Regions from separate parts of the Homo sapiens genome. Here all the other regions are linked to region 1. Evidence: promoter capture Hi-C in 16 types of primary human blood cells and fetal thymus (Javierre and others, 2016). All regions are on one chromosome and are shown on one strand. Each heading gives the region's core, a stretch centred on a gene start or on the middle of the fragment in contact. The rest is flanking DNA. Distances are from core to core; before and after follow the strand shown. Region 1 holds the start of MAN2A1 (mannosidase alpha class 2A member 1). Region 2 overlaps SLC25A46 (solute carrier family 25 member 46). Region 3 has its middle 89 kb from the start of LINC01023. Region 4 has its middle 2.3 kb from the start of TMEM232. Region 5 holds the start of STARD4-AS1 (STARD4 antisense RNA 1). Region 6 has its middle 140 kb from the start of FBXL17. Region 7 has its middle 47 kb from the start of LINC01023.

Evidence for each region. The method cuts DNA at HindIII sites, captures the fragments that hold promoters and counts their contacts. A CHiCAGO score of 5 or more calls a contact.
Region 2: a fragment that was not itself captured here is called in contact with the fragment with the promoter of MAN2A1 in region 1 in 2 of 17 cell types (naive CD8 T cells and naive CD4 T cells); the score reaches 6.2 in naive CD8 T cells.
Region 3: a fragment that was not itself captured here is called in contact with the fragment with the promoter of MAN2A1 in region 1 in 3 of 17 cell types (M2 macrophages, M1 macrophages and M0 macrophages); the score reaches 11.0 in M2 macrophages.
Region 4: a contact is called between a fragment that was not itself captured here and the fragment with the promoter of MAN2A1 in region 1, in 1 of 17 cell types (total CD8 T cells). The highest score is 6.4, in total CD8 T cells.
Region 5: a contact is called between the fragment with the promoter of STARD4-AS1 here and the fragment with the promoter of MAN2A1 in region 1, in 1 of 17 cell types (activated CD4 T cells). The highest score is 6.0, in activated CD4 T cells.
Region 6: a fragment that was not itself captured here is called in contact with the fragment with the promoter of MAN2A1 in region 1 in 4 of 17 cell types (endothelial precursors, erythroblasts, M0 macrophages and 1 more); the score reaches 9.8 in endothelial precursors.
Region 7: a fragment that was not itself captured here is called in contact with the fragment with the promoter of MAN2A1 in region 1 in 10 of 17 cell types (M2 macrophages, total B cells, naive B cells and 7 more); the score reaches 15.8 in M2 macrophages.

What each region holds. Positions count from the first base shown.
Region 1 is chr5:109,687,550-109,691,176 of GRCh38, forward strand. MAN2A1 (mannosidase alpha class 2A member 1) reads left to right here and starts at 2,378. Exons shown (of 22, transcript NM_002372.4): 1 at 2,378-3,003. The coding sequence starts at 2,869. MAN2A1-DT (MAN2A1 divergent transcript) reads right to left here and starts at 3,550. Exons shown (of 1, transcript NR_186543.1): 1 at 252-3,550. RefSeq lists enhancers at 1,034-1,702, 1,462-1,561 and silencers at 1,672-1,961, 1,972-2,491, 2,522-2,731, 3,142-3,241. The HindIII fragment of the contact is 3,132 bases long and covers 1,235-3,627 here.
Region 2 is chr5:110,744,515-110,747,922 of GRCh38, forward strand. It overlaps SLC25A46 (solute carrier family 25 member 46), which reads left to right. Exons shown (of 8, transcript NM_138773.4): 4 at 1,755-1,832. Among named protein-coding and RNA genes, the nearest start is that of SLC25A46, 7.2 kb to the left of the region's middle. The HindIII fragment of the contact is 6,336 bases long and covers 1-3,408 here.
Region 3 is chr5:108,637,081-108,640,800 of GRCh38, forward strand. No RefSeq gene overlaps it. Among named protein-coding and RNA genes, the nearest start is that of LINC01023, 89 kb to the right of the region's middle. The HindIII fragment of the contact is 1,523 bases long and covers 1,168-2,690 here.
Region 4 is chr5:110,727,282-110,730,609 of GRCh38, forward strand. It overlaps a transcript of TMEM232 not described here. Among named protein-coding and RNA genes, the nearest start is that of TMEM232, 2.3 kb to the left of the region's middle. The HindIII fragment of the contact is 1,678 bases long and covers 1,189-2,866 here.
Region 5 is chr5:111,510,526-111,513,984 of GRCh38, forward strand. STARD4-AS1 (STARD4 antisense RNA 1) reads left to right here and starts at 1,701. Exons shown (of 7, transcript NR_040093.1): 1 at 1,701-1,983. It overlaps STARD4 (StAR related lipid transfer domain containing 4), which reads right to left and starts at 2,010. Exons shown (of 6, transcript NM_139164.3): 1 at 1,860-2,010. RefSeq lists enhancers at 1,645-1,854, 2,335-2,474 and a silencer at 1,885-2,254. The HindIII fragment of the contact is 3,364 bases long and covers 525-3,459 here.
Region 6 is chr5:108,522,522-108,525,822 of GRCh38, forward strand. No RefSeq gene overlaps it. Among named protein-coding and RNA genes, the nearest start is that of FBXL17, 140 kb to the left of the region's middle. The HindIII fragment of the contact is 1,183 bases long and covers 1,401-2,583 here.
Region 7 is chr5:108,680,025-108,683,328 of GRCh38, forward strand. No RefSeq gene overlaps it. Among named protein-coding and RNA genes, the nearest start is that of LINC01023, 47 kb to the right of the region's middle. RefSeq lists an enhancer at 1,371-1,871. The HindIII fragment of the contact is 1,731 bases long and covers 1,020-2,750 here.

The sequences.
Region 1 (3,627 bases), core at 1,128-3,627:
TGCTGCCTGGTTTCTGCTATTCTGAGATCGTGTCATCCCCATTGAAATCAGGGAGCCCATCTAGATAGTGGCATCCTCTATAGTCAAGGTTTTCAAGCAAGGCTAGTCTCTTTAGACACTGGAGGGCAACCTACTTCCACTGATAAGAGAAAGAGTTGGCGTGTTTAAGATTGTCGGTTTCATCTGGGTCCAACCCATTTCAAGTATTGAGATTCTATTATTAAAAAATAACACCATTTTACACGAAAAACTCAGAATATGTGTGAATTTAATAGCAGTTATAATTCAGTAACATGAAAATTAAAATTTTGTTTGATTCTCAGCATAATTCTTGTTGCTACAATAAACCAGAGCTTTTGGAATTCTGCAGAATATCTCTGGTTCTCATACCATAACTCTGAGAGTTAAAAAACCTGTGCTTGTCATTTCTCTTTATAACCACTCAAAAGCACGCAAAAGAATCCATCCCACACCAGTCTTTCTAGTCATCTTTATAACCATAGCAGTCAAGTGTAGCAGCCACTTGGGGCCCCAAGGCACAGGCTTCAGTTGGCACTTCATCAGGATCAACCACAGGTAATTGCTTAATTGAGATGCCCAGCATGTCATGAATTACATTTCCCTTTGGCAAGGAGCTAAAGCTCAAAACCTCAATCAAACTGACCTTTAATCCCATCTTTGCAGGTCTATTTCTTGGGACTACTCCCGGGACAGGGAAGGCTTAATAAAAAGAATTGTTAACTATAATAGAGGATTAGAGTAATGAAGGATTCACTAGCAAGAAGAGAACTTTAAAGAATATAGCAACAGCAGCTATAAGGAGCTAACCTTATAACTAACTCTTGGGTTGAGAGACAGAGTGCCCAATGAAGAACCTCCCCAATTCCTCCCAGGGCTAAGATCTAGACGTTTTTGGAGAGGGCATGACCTGGCTCACTGAATGGCAGAGAAGTCACCATTGGGCTACGTCTGCAAAGCTTGTGGAAGATGTGCCCTCTGCAACTTGCTGCAAATGCCTCTAGGGTGCCAGGGAAGTTATTCATGGGGTAGTGTCTCACCTCCTCTACAAAGCTCCTAGAGTTGGGCATGTGAGAGGAAATTGCTAGTTACTGAGCACTATAGGACCTTGGCAGTGGAGAAAGCCAGGTATGCTGCAAAAGCTTATCAATACACAGAAATCAGGAAGCAAAATCCTTTTTTTCTGTAATGTCTCTTCAGCGCCCTCTGCTGATAAAGCTTCAGTCCCAGAAGGCAAACGAAAAACTGTTTAAAAGGCTCAGATCCGTTTTTACAGTGCAGTCAAAAAGGGCGAATTTGGAGCTGAGAGGCAATAAATCAATAACTGGCAGAAGCATCACTTCTCAGATTACACTCATGGATTTCGTAGTCAGATGTTTCTACATGTGCCTGGACGGCCCTTTGTCAGTCTCCTTTCCCCCAGGTTTTAACAGGCTGTCACCAAAGGAGGAAATAGTGAGCCCGAAGAGAATGTGCAAGCCCTCTTCTCTTGCATTTCCTCCAGCCCGTCACCAAGTACTCTTCCAGGCACGCCAGGCCCGAGTGTCCTAGGATAGGAAACCTGAGCAACAAAGGGAAGTGGGGTGTAAGCTCAACCCCTGTTGGACGTGGGGGTGCTGGCGCCTGAACGCCCCCGAAGGCCTCAACTCCCAGAAAGCTGCCTGCCAGGTCACAAGAGCCCTGTGAGGTCTTCCTATCGCCGGGACACTGGGAGGCAGGCGCGGGGCGGGTCCGCCGGGCGACGCGCTGTGATTGGGCGCCGTGGGGCCCGCCCCCTCATCTCGGAGCGTCGGGAGGGGGCGGGGCCAGCCGCCCGCTCGGCTCAGGCGCTGCGGGCGCCTATTGACCCAGCGGCTGCTGCGCCGCCGCTGTCTCCTCCTGCTCGTGGCGGGCGGTGCTGGAGCGCCAAGTGGCGCTGGAGAACCGGCGCTTCCTTTCGCCGCTTCCGCCGCCATCTCCGCGTTTGTGGGGCGGGAAAGAGGGAGGGGGCTAGCGGCTGCAGCTGGAGCGGGCTTCTCTCCGGGGACGGTCCTTTCCTCCCTGCTCTCCTTTTCCTTCTTTCCGCGTTGCCGCCGCCCGCCCCCTGCGCCTCCCCGCGGAGCCTGGGTCCGGGAGGGGGAAGGTAGGGGCGGCGGGGGGCGGGAGAGTCTGGCGAGCGGACGCTAGCTCTGAGGAAACTCATCAATCCGTGAGCCCCGGAGTCCGGGGTGCACATCGGCCCAGCCGCAGCGTCGGCGGCGGCGGCGGCAGCAGCACGAAGGGGCTCAGTCGGGGTAGGCGGGGGCGGTGCCGGTGCCGCGGGGGCGGGCCCGACCGTCCCGCCCAGAAGTTGTAGGGCTTGGCTCCTCGCGATCTTGTTCCTTTCCCCTCCGCTTCTCTGACCTAGCTGCGCGGCCCCGGCCCGGGAGCTGCCGAACCCGCGCCTCCCCTGGGTGAGGAGGACACGCCTGCCCTCGTCGAGAAAACTTTTCCTGCCGACTCAGTTGGGGCGGCGGTGGCAGGAAGTGCGGGCAGCGACCTCTCCTCCGCCTGCCCCGCGCGCCCTGCCGGAGGTCGGCGCTGAGCTTGCGATCAAGTTTGTGGGGGCCCCCCTTCCCAGTTGCCGGCGAGTCTCGCCTCGAGAGGGGCGCCCGACCCCGGGGAGGGCGGCAGGCCAGGGCGAAGGCCAAGGGCGTGTGGTGGCGCCGGAGACTAGGTGCGGAGCAAGGCGGGGACTCGCACCCGCATCCGAGAGCGCGGAGGTCGCGCAGCCCGGGAGAAGGGAGCCTCCGGCGGCTGCTTCCTAGAGTCCACAGTGCGCTGTCTCCTTTGGCTGAGGAGAGTGTCCTGGCCCCGAGTCTATCGAGGAAAATGAAGTTAAGCCGCCAGTTCACCGTGTTCGGCAGTGCGATCTTCTGTGTGGTGATTTTCTCGCTCTACCTGATGCTGGACCGGGGTCACTTAGACTACCCCAGGAACCCGCGCCGCGAGGGCTCCTTCCCTCAGGTAAGCACCTGGGAAGGGGGCGCGGGGCTCCGAGGGGCCAGGCGTGCGGGCCCCTGGTTAGCGGCTGCTACCCAACCTCTTCCTCCCGCCGCGGCCCCACACCCGTGCTGGGCGAGGCCAGGGGCTCTGTAGCTCTCGGACGGCAATGATCACCTCCTGGGAGCCACCTCGCCCGGGCGCGCCAAGTTAACAAAGTGCTGGGCGGCGTGCGGCGGCGGCGGCGGCATCATCCCGCTCAGGAAAGTGGCCATGTTCCGGCATTCGCACCCGGCCTGTTGGGGTGGCTTCGGGCACCTGCTGGCGGGGGAACGGGCGCGGCGTGAGGCACCCCCCGCCAGCCCGGGGCCCGCGTATCCCGGTGGGGTCGTTCTCGGCTCTCACAGGGTTAAGCCGCCCGCACCAGCCCAGAGCCCCTGAGCGCACGGAGTCGCGGAAATGGATCAAACCGAACCCACCTAGGCTTTTTTTTCTTTTTCTTCCCCGCTGCCTCTGAAGAGAGAGAAGTTTATTTCGTGTTGCGGCCCTTTTAGATGTGAATCTCTAGGTTGATTTTAGTGTCGTCATTCTTCAGCTATTACATCTGGTTTGTTTGTGGCAGACAGGGGGAACCGAGTGGGGAAGCGC
Region 2 (3,408 bases), core at 469-2,968, 1.1 Mb after region 1:
TTAAAACATTTGATTATAAAATATCAAAAAATCATCTTCATTAAAAATACTACTGATCTCACTAGAAAAGTCTATAAGTATTGTCAGCTCTTGACGATGCATATAGATTTTCCAAAATTCTGAGTTTTAGTTGAAAATTCAAACTTATCATTGACAGTAAATACTGTTATTTATTTTTGTTTTAATCAACAATCTCACTTTGTTTATTTTTTAAAATATGTCTGTCCTGAAAGTGAATAGGTATAGTCCGTCAATGAGTTTTTCTAAGTAAAAATGATGTTCCGTGAAAAAAGTGGCTAGTTTAGCTTGCAGTTCTATCATACAAGTGCTTTCCTCATGACAGCAATCTTACTTCCTTATGTAACACACAGGATATTAATTAGAAAGAGGATGTGTACTCAAAGGTCAAGGATTCATAAAATTAACATTTTGTTACTTCATTGTCAAGGATATTACTATATGAAGGTTGCTTTTTTCTCTCTATGGGTAAATGAGGTGAAAAATTACTGTAAGTACGAAAATACAGTTTGATGGTGCTGCCTCAATTTGTGCTAATGAGCTGGGAGTTTTACCTACCATTGCTTTTGTACCATTAGTGAAAATGTCAAGACAGTGAAAAAAGGAAATTATATCTTAGTAATCACTAGGAAAATAATTTTGAACTTGTCAAGCCCCTGAAAGGGTAATGGGGCCCTCAGGAGTCAGTGGACCCCACTTGCAAACTCTGTTATAACCCACTTTTTTTTTTTGTTTGTTTGAGACGGAGTCTCGCTCTGTTGCCCAAACTGGAGTGCAGTGGCATGATCTCGGCTCACTGCAAACTCCGCCTCCTGGGTTCACGCCATTCTCCTGCCTCAGCCTCCCGAGTAGCTGGGACTACAGGAGCCCGCCACCGTGCCCAGCTAATTTTTTGTATTTTTAGTAGAGACGGGGTTTCATCGTGTTAGCCAGGATGGTCTCGATCTCCTGACCTCATGATCCGCCCGCCTCAGCCTCCCAAAGTGGTGGGATTACAGGTGTGAGCCACTGCGCCCGTCCTGTTATAACCCACTTTCTCTGTAAAGTAATGCTTCCTGTATTTGTTAGCTGTTAGAGTTCAAAACAGTATAAATCATTATAAATTAATCTGTTCATGCTTAGCACTGAAAAGTATGTATACAGAAATACCATTAAAGTAGCATTGACTGTATGTGCCACAGAACAGTGTATTTCAGATATATATTTTACATTGTAGTAATATTAACATGGAGATCCAATGGATACATTACATATAAGTAACAAATATATTATTTTTAAATGTTTTATGAAATAATACCATTAGAATGTAATACATTCTAATATTTTATTGTTTCACATAATAAATATTGTTTTGACACTCCCCCAGTTGATTTCATATACCAGTCAGTTGCCAAGTACAGTTTGAAAAATGCTTGCCTAAAATGAACATGAGTTGGGAGATGTAATTCAGTTGTTTAAGGCAAACCAAATATCAAATAAGACCCTCTTTATTATATAGTCTACAGTACTGTGTGTATTATGCATTGGTCTTCAGATTGTATTTATATAACCATACATACTGTACTTTTAATAGGTTATTTAAAGCACTTTTAAGAGTAATTTTGCTTATGTGTAATTTATGTTGACTTTGGAATTAACTTTTGTTTATACTGCAATTCCACCATATTTCTTTCATGGCTCTGTTATTTCTTGACAAAACATTAACAGAAAAAAATAATGAAATATCTTTTTTACAGGTTAATTACCATGCTCAGCATTACCATCTCACTCCATTTACAGTCATCAATATTATGTACAGTTTCAACAAAACTCAGGTGAGAATTTTGTCTGGATTCTATTAAAGGTTTATATAAGTGTCATTTGGGTTTAGTAATCATTAAAGCAAGAATAATTACTTTCAGTTTGGTCAATAAAACATCTTAACTGTTGTAGTAAAACTAAAGTAGCACAACGATATGTTTTTGAATCTTTCAAAATGTAATTTAGCAAAAGTACAATTTAATTTAGCAAAACCACAAAGAGCTGTGCTAAGATGATGTCTCTGCTATCAAGAGGCTCATATTTATTCATGGAGACAAAATCTTTGAAGATTGTGCTGCAGTAAGATAAAGGCAATATTAGAAGTACAGAATGCTGTCAGAATACAAAAGAGAAGTACCTTATCAAAACTGGGCTTGGGCACAGTGTATGGCTGGGAAAAACTTTGGGAAAAGAAAGGCCCGAATTGTGTGCTTCTTGTTGAGAAGTCTGACTCTTCATGATGAGGATAGAGAAAAGGTTTTTAAAGTAGACGTGTGAAGGCAGAAGACAAAGAGAGATCATAATGTTTGGGAATGGATTTAATGGAGTACAATGGGAGCTTGAAGTGGGGGTTGAAGAGTAAGAGAAAGATGAAAAAGTAGCCAGAGAAGTAAGCAGGATCCAGATTCTAAAGCACCTTCTAAGAACTGCACACTACTAGATCTTAAAAGCTACAAGAGTACTGTTGAAGGTGTTTTAGCCATGACCAAAATATCTTGAAGACCTTTGGATTGTTTGGCAATATCTATTAAAATTTAAAATGTACATGTTCTTTCACTTCCAGGAACTTATCCCACATAGATGTGCACATATATATGCAAAAATATATATACAAGGATGTCCTATGACATTGCATATAATAGACTGGAAATGATTAAATGTCCATCACTAGGGTACCAGTGAAATAATTATGGTATATTATGGTGAAACACCTTGTAACCTTTAAAAATAAGAGGGTAGCTCTGTGTATACTAATGTGGAATGATCTCCAGGATATTTTTTATGTTTCAAGATAATACTACCTGTTAAAAATAAGCAAAACAAAAATATTTCTATAACATACACACACAGATATACTTGTATATGCATGGATTATCCCGATAAATTTTAAAACTGCTGCTGAGGACTGGGATGAAAAGGAGACAGACTTTTCAGCTGATACCCTATTGCTTCTTTTTAATTCTATCATGTATATCTATTAATAATATAGATAATATAGATAAATAATAGGAGTATTACTGATGGTATCATGCAAAGGGGCAAAACCAGAGACAGTGAAACTTGTAGTCAAATTGATATAAAGTAATAGTGTTAAGTATGGAGAAGAGCATGGATTTGTAAGATACTAAGGGAGTAGAATTTGTAGAACCTGGGGACTGATTAGATAGGAAGAGTGAGATAAAAATGTTTTCTAGATATATTGTTTGGACACTAGGATGATGAAGCTGCTATCTAGGGAAATAGGAAATACAGCAGAGAAGGAAAGAATTGGTGTGGTATGAGTGAGTATGATTGGGTTAAGTTGTGGATATGTAAGTTTCAAGTTACCTTGTGTCATCCACAGGACAGGACTAGTAGGGAGTTGAATAT
Region 3 (3,720 bases), core at 679-3,178, 1.1 Mb before region 1:
TCATTCATGCATTCATTCATTTAGCAAATATACATTGAGAACATACTCTGTGACAGAAACTGCTAGGTATGGGGAGGAAAAAGACAGATAAAATATTATTCCTTTCTCTGAGGTGCTTATAGTCTAATGGGAGTGAAAGACATACATCAAAACATAAGTACGCTCAGATGTTATGAATGCTGTGCTACAACTGTTGTGCAACACACAGCAACATAACAGAGTGGTTAAGTGTGTGATACTTGACTCACACTGTGAGAGGGAGCATCTCACTTCTGACACTTATACAAATTACTCAATATCCCTAAGCTTCCATTTCCTTATTTTTAAGCTAAAGGCAAATAATACTTCCTATGGCATAATATGTTATGAGGATTAAGTGAGATGTAACATGTAATGTTACTGGCATGTAGTAAGTGCTCAGTAAATGTTAGCCATTATTCTTATTATTTCTACAGTAGAAGCACAAAAGAGGTGGGGTGTCTTATTTGAGGGTCTAAAGATGCTTCATGGGAAGGTTTTACTCTAGCTGAGTCTGGAAGATGAACTAAATTGCTACCAAGTAATTGTGGGGAGAAATCGATTCTGGGCAAGAGGAGTTACACAAATAATATGCTAGCAGCAGGACACAGCCTGATACTGGAGAAACTTCTAGCCGTTTGGAGTGACCAGTGCTCCAGATGCAGGCCTAGTAGCTCTGTGCACCAGATCCAGGCAGAGACTGGGACCAGAATGCTACCAGAAGAACCTGGTTCTGTCCTATTCTCTGTGCCCCAGGGCAGCTGCTTGTAAGCCTTGGGGTCTTAGTTTTCTTATTTGGGAATTAAGGAGGTAAAACTAGATGACCTCTATTATTCCTTCCAGCTCCAACTTTCTGTGGTTTTAAGGTAAAATCTAATTAGGTCAAGCTAGAAGCTTTAGCTTGCATTCTGGGCAAAACCAATAAGTATTATGAATTAAGAAGCTGCTAAAGAAATATGTCGATTCTTCGGGGAAGTCTGTAGGGGGGAAGGAGGGAACATGGGGAAAGGGTGGGTGCAAACTTCTGAGCAGACACTGAGTTGAAGAGTATGCATACTAAGCACTACCTAAAAAGGATTAATGTGACTCACTTCTATTCAATTTTTCAAACTTGTGGACTTGTTCAGTTGCTACTGGGATGTGTTCAAAAGCTTCTGCTTTAGTCATTAGATAATTTCTCAATCAATGGCTACTAAATATTCTACTACTATAATGTTCTGGGAAGCATGACATATTTTTAACTTTTAAAGGGTTGTAAGTATAAAAATTCTGAAAATCATTAAATCTAGATACTGCTTAATTGTTACTAATTGACTTTGTCTCAGGGCTGTAAAGTAACCCACATAACCTAAAATTTAAAAAAAAAAAAAATTGGCCAAGAGCAGCAGCTCACACTTGTAATGTCAGCACTTTGGGAGGTTAAGGTGGGAGGATTGTTTGAGGCCAGAACTTTGAGACCAGTCTGGGCAACATAGTGAGACCCCTGTCTCTACAAAAAAATAAAAGGAATGAACTGGACATGGTGGCACATACCTGTGGTCCCAGCTACTTGGGAGACTGAGAGGGGAGGATTGTTTGAACTCAGGAGTTTGAGGCTACAGTGAGCTATGATTGTGCCACTGGACTCCAGCCTGGGCAACAGAGTGAGACCTCATCTTCAAAAAAAGAAAGTGTTTTTAAGAAAGTAAAATGAATCCAAGACAGATAAAAATGACACTGAGGGAAAGTAAAGCATGATCAAAATGAAGAAACGTCCCCTGAAAATGGAATCTTTGAAGATTTTCTGTATCAGAAACCTTACACTAAGGATGCTGGTAATATGGGAGGACTGTGGAGTTTTTGCACCCTGTTTTGAGCCTGAAGAAATTTGGAAGCTCTCTCTATTTACATAAAGGAGGTTTGCATGGCAGAAATGACCATCAGATCCTGATTAATTCTCATTGCCACTGACTCCATGTGACAGTAAAAGACGTTCATATTTTTGAAAGCCCAAGTGCACTCCATGTTTGAAAACAGAATTCATTCATCACGGAAGCTGCCCAGGAAGGGTGCTGGACATAGGTAAAAATCTCAAAGACAGTCCTCTACCCTAATCCAGGGGTATTATCTCCCTGCCATTAGTACATCCCAGAATATTCACATGGATGACTTCTGGAGCCTAAGAAATGCAGAGTGGTAGTGGAGAAATTGGGACTGCAAGGGGAAAATATGTGAAACTCACTTGTTGACAGCTATAATTGGGACTGAAATTGCATACATCCTTCAGTCTGTCTGTAAGGCTCAAACTACATCTTGAAACATGGTCAGTGTCAACAGAGAGCATTGTCCACTCTCACTCACCAATACTCCTCTCACAAGAAGCAAGAGCCCTGCAGTGCCTGGTGACCTACCCACAGCAACCGCTTCCTAATCATCCCCTCCCTCCTATAGCCATCACTCTCTACTAGGAGGAGTTGAGTTGCGTTACAGGAAATGCCTGCCTGGAAAAAGGCGTTAGCCTGTTTCTGTGTGGCTTTAAAGGATGGAATTTATAGACATCTGAGTAGACTGGAATCAGCATGGGCTGCCTAGTTCAACAGTCACTTCTAAATCTCTAGAGAGTTGAATTGGAGGCCTGGATGACCAGTGGTTATGAACATTGCTGAGGAGTAGTTGGGCCTCTGGCTTTTTTAAGCTTCCTTCCAATTCTAGGCTATGACTTAGTGATGTCTTTTGTTCATTTAAATCAGTTGAAGACTTAACAGAATTTAGGAATTGCACAGAAATAAATATTCCCTAGCAATGTCTAAAAATAAAGAACAAAACAAGAAACCTCTTGCTAACTCTAATGATACATTTGTGAATATGTCATTCGTCTGGACTGATGAGTACAGGAAGCCTGTGGTTTGGTGTACTGGAGATGATTGCTTAGCTTAAATTATACAAAGATTTCATTAATATAATTTCCTTGTCTCCTGTATGGATTTCTTTTAGCAGTCCCCATTACTGAAAAGAGAATACAAATCAACAAATAAGTTCTTTTCTCTTCAACAATCTCAATATTAGGTCAGTGAAATTTTTTTAATTTGAAAGTACTTTTTTCACTTCTACTAGTGTAAATAATCCAAGAGTTATTATTATTATTATTATTATTATTATTATTGGTCTTTTTTACCTTCCTTCCTTTGAAAAACCTTCTATTTGTGATTGAAAGATTGGGGAAAAGTAACTATTTTATGGTCCTGGCTGTGTCTAAACCCTAATCTAAAAATTTGCTGGCATTCTCTCATTGAAGTTGTCACAGCTTACATATTTAGTTTTCTATAATATCTCATACACCAAAATCCAAAAACCACAAAAACAAATCTTTCCTTGGTTTTACATCATTTAGATGCTTCAAGGTAATAGGCATCCGTTGTTTGCAAAGCCCATTCTGGGTCTGGATGTGTGCTAGATGAGGTACAAAGATATCACAGGTGAGCTGAGGACAAAACCAGAGCCAGAGCCTCCCATGATGATCAACTTTGCTGTATGTCATGTTCCACAGAGTCATTGCAAGGCTAACTTTGGTCAGAGAGTGCTAAAGTGGAGGTGCCAGAAAGAAGGAGAATGTGGACCCCATGCCGGACACATGTTTGCATATATTATTTCATTTAGTCTTCACACTCACCTTGACTGGTTTATAAATGGAGAATCTTTCATGTCAAGAGGTTAAGTAACTTG
Region 4 (3,328 bases), core at 778-3,277, 1.0 Mb after region 1:
ACTATATGGAAGAATGGGGAAGGGCATTTATGATTAAATTCATACGTAGGCCGGGCGCAGTGGCTCATGCCTGTTATCCCAGCACTTTGGGAGGCCAAGGTGGGCGGATCACGAGGTCAGGAGTTCGAGACCATCCTGGCTAACATGGTGAAACCCGTCTCTACTAAAAATACAAAAGTTAGCCAGGCGTGGTGGCACCCACCTATAATCCCAGCTACTCAGGAGGCTGAGGCAGGAGAATTGCTTGAACCCAGGAGATGGAGGTTGCAGTGAGCCGAGATCATGCCACTGCACCCCAGCCTGGGAAACAGAGCGAGATTCCATCTAAAGAAAAAAAAAATACTAAAACGTAATATACAGGGATTGTCCTGTGAAATGACCTGCCTTTAAAAATTAGAACTTTGAAAGAAAATTTAACTTGAACTACTTCGATTCGGAATTAAGTTTTTTTGTTTTTTGAGTGCATTTTTATGTTTAAAACAGAAATTACAATATGTGATCTCAGGCTTCTCTGACGTATCACTCCTAGAAGATCAGTAAGTTAAAGGTAATAATGAAAAGTGAAATTGACAAAGACTATAAACTACATATGTGAGAGAACAAATCCTAGAATATCAACAGTGCTTACCATAATCCAGATAAAATAAAAATGAAAAGACTGTGGTATTTAATAATAGCCTGGGGGCTTGCTTGTTTTAATTTCAAGAGATCTAGAAAAGTGTTAAAAGCATAAAAAAATACAAACTGTTAACCAGGTTATTCATAATCAAATGAAGATTGAATTAAAAAGGAATAAAAGGAAGGCCGAATAAAAAATTCTTCTCCATAATATAAGAATCAGTTGAAACTATAGCATGTTTAGAGAAAAAAAGTCACCCCATCGATTCTACAGTGAAGACAACAGAACAAGTTTATATAAGGAAGAATTCACAAATACATATATATATATATTACACATATCTACTTATTCTAAATATATCTACTGATTTTATATATGTATCTACTGATTTTATTTATATATATATCAGTAGAATGAAAGATTACAGAAAAAGCATAAAATTTATATATGATAAATTTGCCATTTTAACTCAGTGGGGAAAAACTGTACAGAGGCTGAGCACAATTTGAAAGAAAATAAATCTGAACTACTATCTCATACCATAGCAACAATAAATCTCAGAGGAATGAAGCTTAAAACAGGAAATAATTTTAAATAATTTTAAGATAATATTGGTATAACCTTAGAGTCACAATAATATTAAGCTAATAGGAGACCCACAATGATTTTAAAAAATGACAAGAATATTTAGAAAATTTATGTAAGAAAAATAAATCTAATAAAGTCATACCTCCCCTTTCTCCCTTTAATTAGTCATCTACATTGAAGTTTTGACAAGACAAATCTAATTTTTTCAAATTATTATATATATACCTATATATATATAATCCTAAAATGGCCATTAATTAGCAATTAGGAAAATAAGCATGTCAAAACCATCCTAACCCCTTAGTATGGCACAATTATGCTTTCAGAAACTATATCATTGCCTACTTGCCCAGTTTTTTTCTGCTTTTTTTTTTTTTACCAGTCTTTTTTATTTTATTTTATTATTATTTTTTGAGATGAAGTCTCGCTTTTGTCCCCCAGGCTGGAGTGCAATGGAGCGATCTCAGCTCATTGCAACCTCCACCTCCTGGGTTCAAGCGATTCTCCTGCCTCAGCCTCCCGAGTACCTGGGATTACAGGCGCCTGCCACCACGCCTGGGTAATTTTTGTATTTTTGGTAGAGACAGGGTTTCACCATGTTGGCCAGGCTGATCTCGAACTCCTGACCTCAGGTAATCCACCCACCTTGGCATCCCAAAGTGCTGGGATTAAAGGCGTGAGCCACCGTGCCTGGCCCAGTCTTCTTTATTTTTAAAACTTTTTCCACTGCTATGTAATCAATTAAAAAATATTTTAAGTTTCCTAAACATATCATGAGCTCTCGTTTCTTAATAACCTCATGCATGCTCTTCCTCTGTCTGAAAATATACTTGCCCACTCACTCCTCAACTGCTGCCACAAACTCACACAAACGCATACCACCCCCTGCTCCCTAATAACCACACACCAGGTAAATGCTTACTCTTGATCAAGACTCGGATGTTAGACATTTGTCAACATTTTGGATCTGGAGAATCCAATCACCCTTCCATGCTACCTGGGGAATTCTTCATGTAATATGAATGGGAAGTGGTGTTTCATCATCCACTACAAAAGCCAAAAACGGCAGATTATATTTTCTCAGAACTCTGTGTTGGAATATGACAGAAGTTTGGCCAAGTATGTGTTCTAGTTTAAGAATTTGAATTTTTAGCAGATAATATCAAGATGAAAGTAGCAATAACTGTGCCTTGGGCCATGATAGCAGCACCCTTACAGATTTTCCTGCCAAAAGACAGTTGTGGTACCTCCTGCTTCTTGGTCCTCTAGAACAGCATTTTTTTTTCCTGTCCATTTCAATCCTTGACTTACAGCCTTCCATCAATTCTATAAACCCTGATTATCCTGTCAAATCTTCTGTTTAAAGTAACAAATTGAGTTTCTGTTATCTTCAACCAAAGTGACACATTCACCTGGGAAGACACCTCATTTTAGAAGCCTTCCAACGCAATGACTGTTCTCTCAGGATAACTTAGAAGACATCCTTCAATGTTTCCTTAGCATTCTGAGTGCTCTTATATAGCACTTATCAAAATTTTACCTAGAGAAATCTACCTAGTGAGTACTCATTAAAAAGTCAGGAAAGAGATGAAACTATTAGTAAGTTACACAATTTAAAATATGCATTATATTTTCTTCAATCATATTTCTCAAACCTTAAGCTTCAGTCCTCCAGTTGCTTGGAATCAAGGCTATTAGCATCTTCACTGACACGATTCAAATTAGTCCATAATACTGCAATTACCTTCCTAGATTAGAATTGATTTTCCAGGGAAAACAATCTGACACCAAAAGTGAATCATAGGAAAAAACTATAGCCATGAAAAAATATTTATCAGTTTGAACTGTTGCATTAGAATTAATATTGATTTTGTAATTTAACAACTTTCTAGATGACAATTTCTTAACTATTTTTGATATTATGTGATATCAGTTTAGTTTTGCCATGGAGTGTATAACTTAATTGTAAATAATTTCTATTTGATACTGTATTAGTTTGTTTTCATGCTGCTGATAAGTACATACCCAAAACTGGGAACAAAATGAGGTTTAATTGGACTTACAGTTCCACATGGCTAGGGAGGCCTCAGAATCATGGCGGGAGGTGAAAGGCACTTCTTA
Region 5 (3,459 bases), core at 451-2,950, 1.8 Mb after region 1:
AGGCACCACTTAACCTTATCAGAATATAATAGGTTCATATAAAAGATTTTATACTCTTGTCAGTCCCATGGCCAAATGCTGAGTAATGTCCACCTCCATGTTTTTCCTTTAATCTTTTTGTTCATGTTTTCTATGCCCATGCTTTTGAAGCTATCACTAGTGGTGATAGTGGCTGCCATCATAGGGAGGGCAGCTGTCTCAAGTTACTTTTCTTGAGGCCATCTATCAGCACCATAGTCTTGACCAATCCAACTCCAATTATTCTCAAATATCTGTCACAGTGAGATGGCATAGGTTCTATTTTAAATATGGAACATAATAAAACATTTAACCTGTAATGTAAAGTGAATGCCATAAAAATCTGTTTGGACTTTTGTAGTACGACTAGGTCAGAATTCACTTGTTAAAGAAATGCAGGTATCAGAACGGTCTAACCTTGCATTACTTGATTAATATGGTTTTCACTTCCGTCAACAGCTTCAGTTTAACATGCCATGGACTTTCCCCAATGTCATACAAACCAAAGCTTTGTAAATTAAATTATATTTTCTAACTAACATAAAAATTTCAGCATATGCTTGATTTCCAATCAATGTTGAACTGTTAAGTTTTCTAACTCAGACAAGTACAGCAGCTTCTCATTTTTTGAGACTGGCTCTGGCAGGAGCTCACTATTTAAAGAAATGCAACATGGAAGTATATTTCTACAATATGAATAGTGAGCCAACTTACTGTTCAAACCCCTAATGCTCTAATACTTGATTAAAAAAAAAACCTAATGCTCTGTACTTGATTTTAAAAAATAACAATAACATTTATTGATCACTTACTACATGGTCAGTCCTTCTGGCTGCTTTACATTGCATTTATTTTATTTAATCCTCACAACAGTAATAGTCCTCCTTGAGAAAATGTGTTTCATTATGGTAAAGGAATTTTAGTTATTCAGAAGCTCTAGGATTGGTGTAAATGGGCATACTTTAGATATCTTGAGGTCTTCCATAAGTGAGAATAGTAGCTTAATGTCTATACATTTTCCCTGTTTTACAGAAAGGGAAAATAGCAACAGGAAGGTTGAGTCACTTGTCCAAGATCACACAGTTCATAAGTGATGGAGCCAGAATTCCAACCCAGGGCGTCTGACTTCAGAGCCTAAAGCTCTCTCTTGTAAAACTGTGGAAGCTGATCACAGGCTGGAAAAGACTTCATATAAAAAACCTGGGCCCACCAAATATTTGTCAAGTTTTGTCCTGGCTGCTGAACCTAAAAATCTAAGGTAATCTTTCTCAAGTGTAAATTCGGGAAAACAATGACACTGATTTGGTGAGAAATTATTTGAGTTAATACATTTAGCAGGGACCTTGGAAGGCAGTAAGCCCTGGGAAAACTTTGTCTCTTGTCTTTGGCATCACCTCCGCGAAGCCTGGTGGGACGCGGCTGCCCCTGCGCTGTCTGTGCACCTCCTAAGAACCAGGAAGCGCGGTGACCTCCAAAGAACAGGACTGTCCCAAATCAAGCGGGATTACCACCGCCCCTCTCCCATTTAACAGCTGAGGACACTGAGGTCTAATGGATTCCAAGTACTTAAATAGGTGAGCGGCGCGCAGGGGCGAGTTGCAAGCCCTGGGATCCTTCCAGCTCGCCGCTTCCCCTCCCAGGGGCTCAGGTTTCTCTTTCATCTGTGAGGTCCTCTCCCGCCCGGACGCCGGGGCCCGCCATCCCCAACGTCCACCGCGAGCTCCCCAGATCCATGGTCTGGAGCAGGTCCAGAAGACGCACCTGGCAGGACGCCCCGGGCGCCACAGTCGCCCTCCACACGGGCCACCCCAATCCTGCCGCGGCTCCGTGGCTCTCCTTACCTTTACCTGAGGTGAAGCAAGGACGTGGAAGCAGCTACGGCGCGCTACCAAGCACCTCACACCGCTCTCAACAGTACTGCTCAGCCTCCCGGCCCGCCGATGCGCAGGCGACAGCAGCCAACTTGTAAGTCACCGCTGGTCGCAGCCAACTGGAAGGCACCCAGCGCCTCAGGGCAAGGCGGGCCGAGCCCCCAGCCCCGCCCCCTGGCCCGATCCCGGGGGCTCCGGGGAGGGGGGGCTGAGAGGAGGTGGCCGGAACAACGTGCGCTTGTTCGGATTGGCTGGCGCGGGAGCGTGTGGAGGGCTGATTGGTGGCCGATAAATGGAATGATTCCGCGTGGGTGTGGGCTGGCCCGAGCCGCGCCAGGGTTCCCTGGATGTCTGGGGTTGCCTGCAGGTTTGGATTGGTTGGGTTGGGTTGTCCTGTGATCACTTAATTGTGAAAGAATTTTGTCAAGCAGTAAACCGACTGGGAGAAATTGAAACAGAAGGCGAAGTGAAGGATCACAGTGAGGGATAAGGTCCAAATTCATCCCGCTTGTGGATATCCTAGTATCTCGCAACTACGCTACTCCTCCCAGGACTAAAAGTCAAATAAGAAAAAGCGCCCATGCAGAGGAGGACGAGCTCTCTGCCTCCTGCTTAGCCTGACTCAGAACTGAGAGAGCTGGGAAGGAAAATGCATATAAACGAAAGTCCCTGCCACTATGTGAATTGACCTTTAGCCAAATACGTTTGTGTGTGTGTGGGTGTGGGTGTGTGTGGGTGCGTGTGTGTGTTTCCATCCTCAGATAAAGAGTTTAGAGGGCAACCTTAGAAGCAGAGAAAAGGAGGAGGTGTGACAAGTGGATTTAGCAACTGCACAGTTTTGGAGTTTCCATCTACTCGAACATGAGAAAGATTTCTTCCAGTGGCTGTGAAGTCACCCATCTGATGGGATGCTTGGCAAACAGTGAATTTCTTCCTTTACCAGAGTAGCCATGATGCACTGATTAGCGAGGCTTGGTTTGTCTGCAAATTGCGTTTACTAAGATACGTAGTTTGAGAACCAAAAGCAGGGAAGAATGCAGTGCTACACCATTAGTGATTTCTGATAGACTTGCAATGAAAATAAATAATATTTCGTAAATTTTTAAGTCGGCCTCACCAAAAGAATTACCAAATACTACTTGCTAGTTATTATTGGCCGATTTATTTTTTACCTCCATCGTTTATATGTAAAATAATTTGTTTTATATTTATATTTATAATTTCGTGTGACATAATAGAAGAGTTCTTCGTGTGTTGTAAAGCTCCTTTCACTTAGGAATTATTGGCCAATTATTGAGGTGCTTTGGATGGATGGATGAATACGTAGATAAATAATTTGAAATGGTTGGGGAAAAGTGCTTTGTAATTAAGTTGTACCTACTTAATTCAATTACATTGAATCCTCTTAACAGCCCCCTAAGGTAGGTGTGTTTTACAGGCGAGGAGCCCCAGACATAAATCTTAAGGCAGGTTGCTTAATTACTGAGTGGAGAAACTGGAATTTGGCTGAGGTCTGCTGGACTCTGAAACTGGGCTCTTAGTCTCCATAAAATTCAGATGGTGCTTGGTA
Region 6 (3,301 bases), core at 742-3,241, 1.2 Mb before region 1:
CCTATAATGAATATGTCTACCTGAATTATCTTCATATTTTCCATCCAAATCTTGCCATAGTTCAATTTGCTTTATTACAAAGTTTTTTCCCCCTGAAGTTCTAATTTATTCTTCTTGATAGAAGAATAATTTACTTTCGTTTTGTTGTTGTTGTTATTGTTTGTTTTTGTTTTTTTGAGACAGAGTCTCGCCCTGTCGCCCAGGCTGGAGTGCAATGACGTGATCTCGGCTCACTGCAACCTCTGCCTCTCAGGTTCAAACAATCTCCTACCTCAGCCTCTCAAGTACCTGGGATTACAGGCGCCCACCACCATGCCCAGCTAATTTTTTTATTTTTAGTAGAGACGGGGTTTCACCATGTTGGCCAGGGTGGTCTCAAACTCATGACCTCATGATCTGCCCGCCTCAGCCTCCCAAAGTGCTGGGATTACAGGTGTGAGCCACTGCGCCTGGCCTACTTTTGTTCTTTTTTTTTTTTTTTTTTAATAATGTCAGAACATCTATTCCCCTTACTTTTGCTATTTGTTGTCTTGGATCCGTTCTGTTTTTCTCAAGGACCACTTCTGATTCTTCCGTTTTCATAGGATTTTTGTTTCATCTGTATAATACCTTTTTTTCCCCTCAATGGTGATGGTTTCCTAATCTGTCTGTGATTTTGTCTGACAGTGTTGATTTCCAAAGAGCTGGCCTGGAGTGCCTTTGCTGTTTTTCTCATTGGTTCTTTAGCATCATCAGGATGGCTGACCAGGAGCTCTACATCCATGGGGAGTGGGGGCAGACAGGGAGCTGGCCATAACGCAGGAGTGGCCTCCAAATGTCAGAATGGTAGTGGCTGCACACATGTACTCTAATAACTCTAATTCTCCTCTGACAGTTGACTAAATTCCTAAGAGAAGAGCCCCCTGATTTTTTGCCTGGGAATGAAATTCTTGGTATCCTAGAGAGAAGAACCTGGGAGAGGAGCTATTCAGAGGCACAAGGTCCATCACCCCCTCACTCTTTTTGGTTCCCCTTTCCATCTGACTTTCTCATAGTACCTGCTTCCCCAAGCTTCTGCAGAATATCAGCATTCTGATTTCACATGCACAGCTCAGAGTTGTCTTGTCTTTGCTTTATTCAATCTGTCAACAGACTTTCTTTCTTTTTCATTTTCTAGAAATGTCTCAGAATCTCTCCTCCACTGATATGATATGGGTTTAATTCTTTACTATCATTTCACTGAGGTCTAGGGAGAGAGAAGAGATAAGCATTAGTTCTAAATTTGCTATTTGAACCAGAAATCACAATTTGTATCTTGAAGTATAAAAATGTAGTACTTTTCTACGGAATATAGAATGTAGAACTATCTGAATAAGAGATTTTGAGTATTTCACTAGTCTTCAATGTCCTTTAGATTGGGAAGCTTTGGCCTGAGGTAGTTTCTTGCACTGAATTGAAGCCGAGAAATGATATTGCATACCTTCACTGACCTAGTTTTTTTGGTGAAGTTTTACATATGGTATTTAAACTAATGTCTCCTATAAAATGTAAAATACTGACCAAGCGCACAATTGTAAAACACTTGTCAGACCCAGTCTCAGATACAATGGAAAACTTCATAAGAGGCAAAAAAATAGAAGAAAATGAAGAGGGTAATGAACTCATGAGTCAGCCAGAAGAACTTCCTCTATCAGAAAAATGAACACCACGTCTTCCATAAACATTTAATTTCCATTTGAACGTCGCTACTGAGTTTACTATAATTACCTCTTTAGGGAAATGGTTCCACTTTATGACTGTAATTAGCTCCAGGAATATTTTTCCAATTTTCAGTTTGAGTTTGCCCTCTGCTCTTGCCTTACTATTCTTCAGACCTCTTCAATCTAAAGTCTGTTTTCCTCTCAAGTTAGATTTTTTTTTTAGAGTTTTTCTACTTGAAATGTTGTTTCTTTAAATAAATCAGATCTCTTGACCTCTTTCTGTAGTTTCCCTCTCATATCAATAGCTTATCTTTGTTTGTTTCTAGAGTTTAAAGTTCCTCTTAATATTTTATCTCCCAAACTCATTTTTCTTATAATGTATAAGTGAATCTTTTATCCAACTACAAAATAGCACCATCAGAAACCTCTTGCCTTACTTTTCAAATCAGATTTGGGTGACTCTTTCTTTAATAATGTTTCACACTGTATTCAGTATGCTTATAAGTATGTCTCTTGGGGTAAGTTCTTAAGGCAATTTTAAGAATCAGGTGATATTCACTTCCTTATTTGAACTCTCTTTGTCCTGTTTAACCCATAAATTCTGCAAGTGTTAAATTATCAACCAACAAGACTCACAGCTATTCATGCAGACTTTAAGCCCAATAAGTCATCCATCCATCCATCCATCCATCCATCCATCCATCCATCCATTCAACAACAATTTTATTCCAGACACTATGCTACCCACTTGGAAGCAGTAGTGAATTAAAAGTAATGAATTAACAGCCCTTGTTCTCATGGAGCTAGACATCTAGTTTCAACCATGGTAATTCCAACTGTGGTAATGCTATGAAGGAAATGCATGGATAGGATTAACTCTAATGGGACTAGAGGGGTTTAGGAAAGCTTGCTTGAGATTAGAGATGAAATATACAAATCTATTTATTTGTGTGCATGTGTGTAAGTAACATTTAAGAGACATTTTTGGTTTCAGCAGCCATAGTTGTTTGTGTGTGTGTTTTTTAGTAATAGTTTTACTGAGATATACTCCACATATAATATTCACCAATTTTAAATGTACAATTTAATGGCTTTGGCGTATTATATTATTAATTTTTAAAAATTATGGTAAAATGTATATAACATAAAATTTGGCATTAAAAAATTTGACCAAAATGTGGTTATGTGAAAAAAATGGAATTTTAACTATTCTTAAGTGTACAATTCAGTGCCATTAATTACACTCACAATATTATGCAACCATTTCATCACCCCAAACTGAATCTCTATACTCATTAAACAATAACTCCTCTGTTGCGGGAAGTCAGGGACCCCGAACGGAGGGACCGGCTGAAGCCATGGCAGAAGAACATGGATTGTGAAGATTTCATGGACATTTATTAGTTCCCCAAATTAATACTTTTATAATTTCTTATGCCTGTCTTTACTGTAATCTCTAAACACAAATTGTGAAGATTTCATGGACACTTATCACTTCCCCAATCAATACCCTTGTGATTTCCTAGGCCTGTCTTTACTTTAATCTCTTAATCCTGTCAGCTGAGGAGGATGTATGTTTGCCTCAGGACCCTGTGATAATTGCGTTACCTGCACAAATTGTA
Region 7 (3,304 bases), core at 635-3,134, 1.0 Mb before region 1:
CAATGTAAAAAATAGAAATTTTTAGAGTAATTAAGTCATGAGAAGGTGCTTTTGGGGCTTTGGGGGAATCCATTAAGCTGCCCTTGCTCTTGAGAGCATCCCCATTTCTTCACTTCTGAAATGACAAGATCTTTCAAAGCCCCAACATGGCTTGAGTGTTTGAAAGCTCTAGGATGATTTTTATTTGTTCTCTCTGATAGAAATGTCAAATGCAGGAGTTTGTGTGACACAAAATGTTTAGGCACACATAGCTGTTGCCATGAACAAAATCTTCTGTATACAAAGGAAGTATTCTGAACTGTTTCCATTTTAGTTTCCAGTAGCCTTTAAAATAACCAAATAAGATCAATCATTAGGGCTTAATGACCCAGAAACTAATGCTGGAAACATTTACTCTTTAATGATGTCTCCTCTTCCTTCCTTGGCCTCCCTAACTAACATAAATTCATCATTTGTCTGTGTCTATGAAGTAAGATCAGATTGACTGGGGGTCTCTTCTCAATATTTTTTTTTTACCTTAACCATGTACTGCAGTTGATCAGAGCAATTAACAGTGATCCAATCCAGACAGAAAGTTATTTTAAATAACCTGACAACCAATCTGAATTCCAACTCTATGAAGGAAACTTGGCCAAAATGTGTTTAGTGTGTTCAAACATAGGCACTATTCAAAATCAAAGCAGAAAAAAAATGAAACTCTGTTAAAAGTGGCTCAAGATGAAGGCATTGCAATTCCCATCTTGAGGGCGGCTGATGAGTTCTTTTCAAGGTGAGGTGTGCCCTAGCATGCAGAGAGGACAGAAAGGGATAAAAGGAACAAATAAGCAAACAGAATGTGCTCTCAGAACTCCCAGCTTGATTTCCTCAAAGAAAAAGTAGAAATAGATCAAATCAAAGCATTCTTTAAAGATGCTGAGGTGGCTTTAACTGACTAAAATGTAGCTTTAAAAAAATCAGTATCCTAAATGCCAGGTGATTAATAAAGGTCAAGCAGGCAACTTCCGGACTTTATCAGTATAAGCTTAGTCGTGTGCCTTTATTAGGAAATGATCAATACCTTCCTACTTAGCAATATTTTAGGGAATATTTTCCTATAATAGGTAAGGTTTTTAAAATATGAAGACAAAAGTGTAGTATAGTTACTTTGTTTTTCTGGTAGAGCTAAGGAAGTAAATGAACCTCACAATAGTCAGTTTATGCACCCAAGTGAGATTAATTGCTTTACTTACACCATTACATTATTACACAATTCTTGTTATGTGGGGTTTTAAAAGTCTTCACTGTTTAAGCTGTTTTCATTTTAGTTATTCTGTTATTTACAACTGAAAGAGAAAACTGGAGAGGTCTTTGTGAATCTCTACCATATTTTTTTATGACTTTTGATTTCAAGAACCAAAATTGAGGATAAACCTGAAGCAAACACTGTTGAAATGGCCTTTGCAGTACAGACTTCATAGGCTAGAGGGCACAATTGTTTTAGCTGGTCCAAGGCAATGGAAAGCAAAACCTAGTCAACTGTTTCTTACACAGTGACCTAGCAGTTTTAAAATTTGGACCAAGAACGTGAAATTGCTCCTCGCTAAAAATCCACATCTGCTGGAAGAAACAGTAGAATAAAATGTGCATTTTCTATAGTAGTTTTGGATGTTTTTTGCAGAGGTCCTGGGCTTGTGAGAAAAAATAGAACACTCCAAAAGGTCCTTTGGTTCAGCAAAATTTTCCTATCTTAGATTTATCAAGCTGTCCACTCAGTTTTCAATGTGGCCTTTTCCTTCTAAAAATAACATCCTCAGCCGGGCGTGGTGGCTCATGCTTGCAATCCCAGCACTTTGGAAGGCCAAGGCGGGCAGATCACCTGAGGTCAGATGTTTGAAACCAGCCTGCCCAACATGGTGAAACCCCGTCTCTACTAAAAATACAAAAAAAAAAAAAAAAAAAAAAAAAAAATTAGCCACGCGTGGTGGCAGGTGCCTGTAATCCAAACTACTTGGGAGGCTGAGGCAAGAGAATCACTCGAACCCGGGAGATGGAGGTTGCAGTGAGCCGAGATCACGCCACTGCATTCCAGCCTGGGCTACAAGAGCAAAACTCCGTCTCAAAAACAAATAAAATAAAATAAAAAATAATAACAGCCCCTCCCTCCAATGTTTGTATGTATATATGCATATAACGTACTTGACAAGGAACTTGGTAAATACTTGACTATCATTAGGAAATTACAGGGTTGATTCTAAGTAGTGAGATTATGTCTTCTATGAAAATGGTTTCTTTTTAAAATGTACACATATTAATAATTTTTTTTTCCTAAAGCAGTTAGTTAGTCAATGATATTGTGTGGCCTTAACATTGTCTCTGCCTTTATTTGTTCCCTTCCTGCTTAGGGCTTTCTGGATCTTCTTTGCTGTTTTACCTTTTTTAATATGAAATGCTTCTGGTTTCTCCTCCTCACATATCATGTATGACCCCAAGTCCCAGATTATTTTTCTCTTTACTCATTTCTTCTGCTTCCTTCATGCCAGCACACCCAGGCAGAAGGAGAGCCACAGGAAAAGTGACCTCCACACTCACAAATTCCTGCTTCATTTCATCATGTTTTTTGCCTCACAAACTACAATTCTTATTCCCAAATTCAAATTTTTTCTTGAGTGATAGTTGTCTTTCTCTTCTTTCTGCACACCCAAAGATCTCAAGTAGGATATTTGGGGACTGATGAAGGGGAGAACTCAAGGAAATGATTGGGGCCTCAAAGAAGCTTCTAGGCCAGGTGTGGTGGCTCATGCCTGTAACCCCAATACTCTGAGAGGCTGAAGTGGGAGGATTGCTTGAGCCTAGGAGTTCAGCGCCAGCCTGGGCAAAAGAAGGAGGCCCTATTTCCACACAAAAAAATTTTTAAATAGCCAGGCATGGTGATGGGTACCTGTGGTCCCAGCAACTTGGGAGGCTGAGATGGGAGAATCGCTTGAGCCCAGCAGGTTGAGGCTACAGTGAGCCGTGATCATGATCATACCACTTTACTCCAGCCTGGGCAACAGACTGAGATCCTGTCTCAAAAAAAAAAAAGAAAAGAAAAGAAAAAAGAAGAAGTTTCTAGATAAGGGATAAATGTCTCATTAGATATGATGTTAAATACTTTTTGAAGCCAATCTTTCCACTTCCACCTATGAAATATATTCCAAACCCATCTGTGGTAGGCAGAATGTTGGGCCTCATGACCTTCTCCCTCTGGAGTCACTCCTGTGAATATGTTACTTTACATGGCAGAATGGACTTGACAGGTGTAATTAAGGTTACTAATCAGCTGACC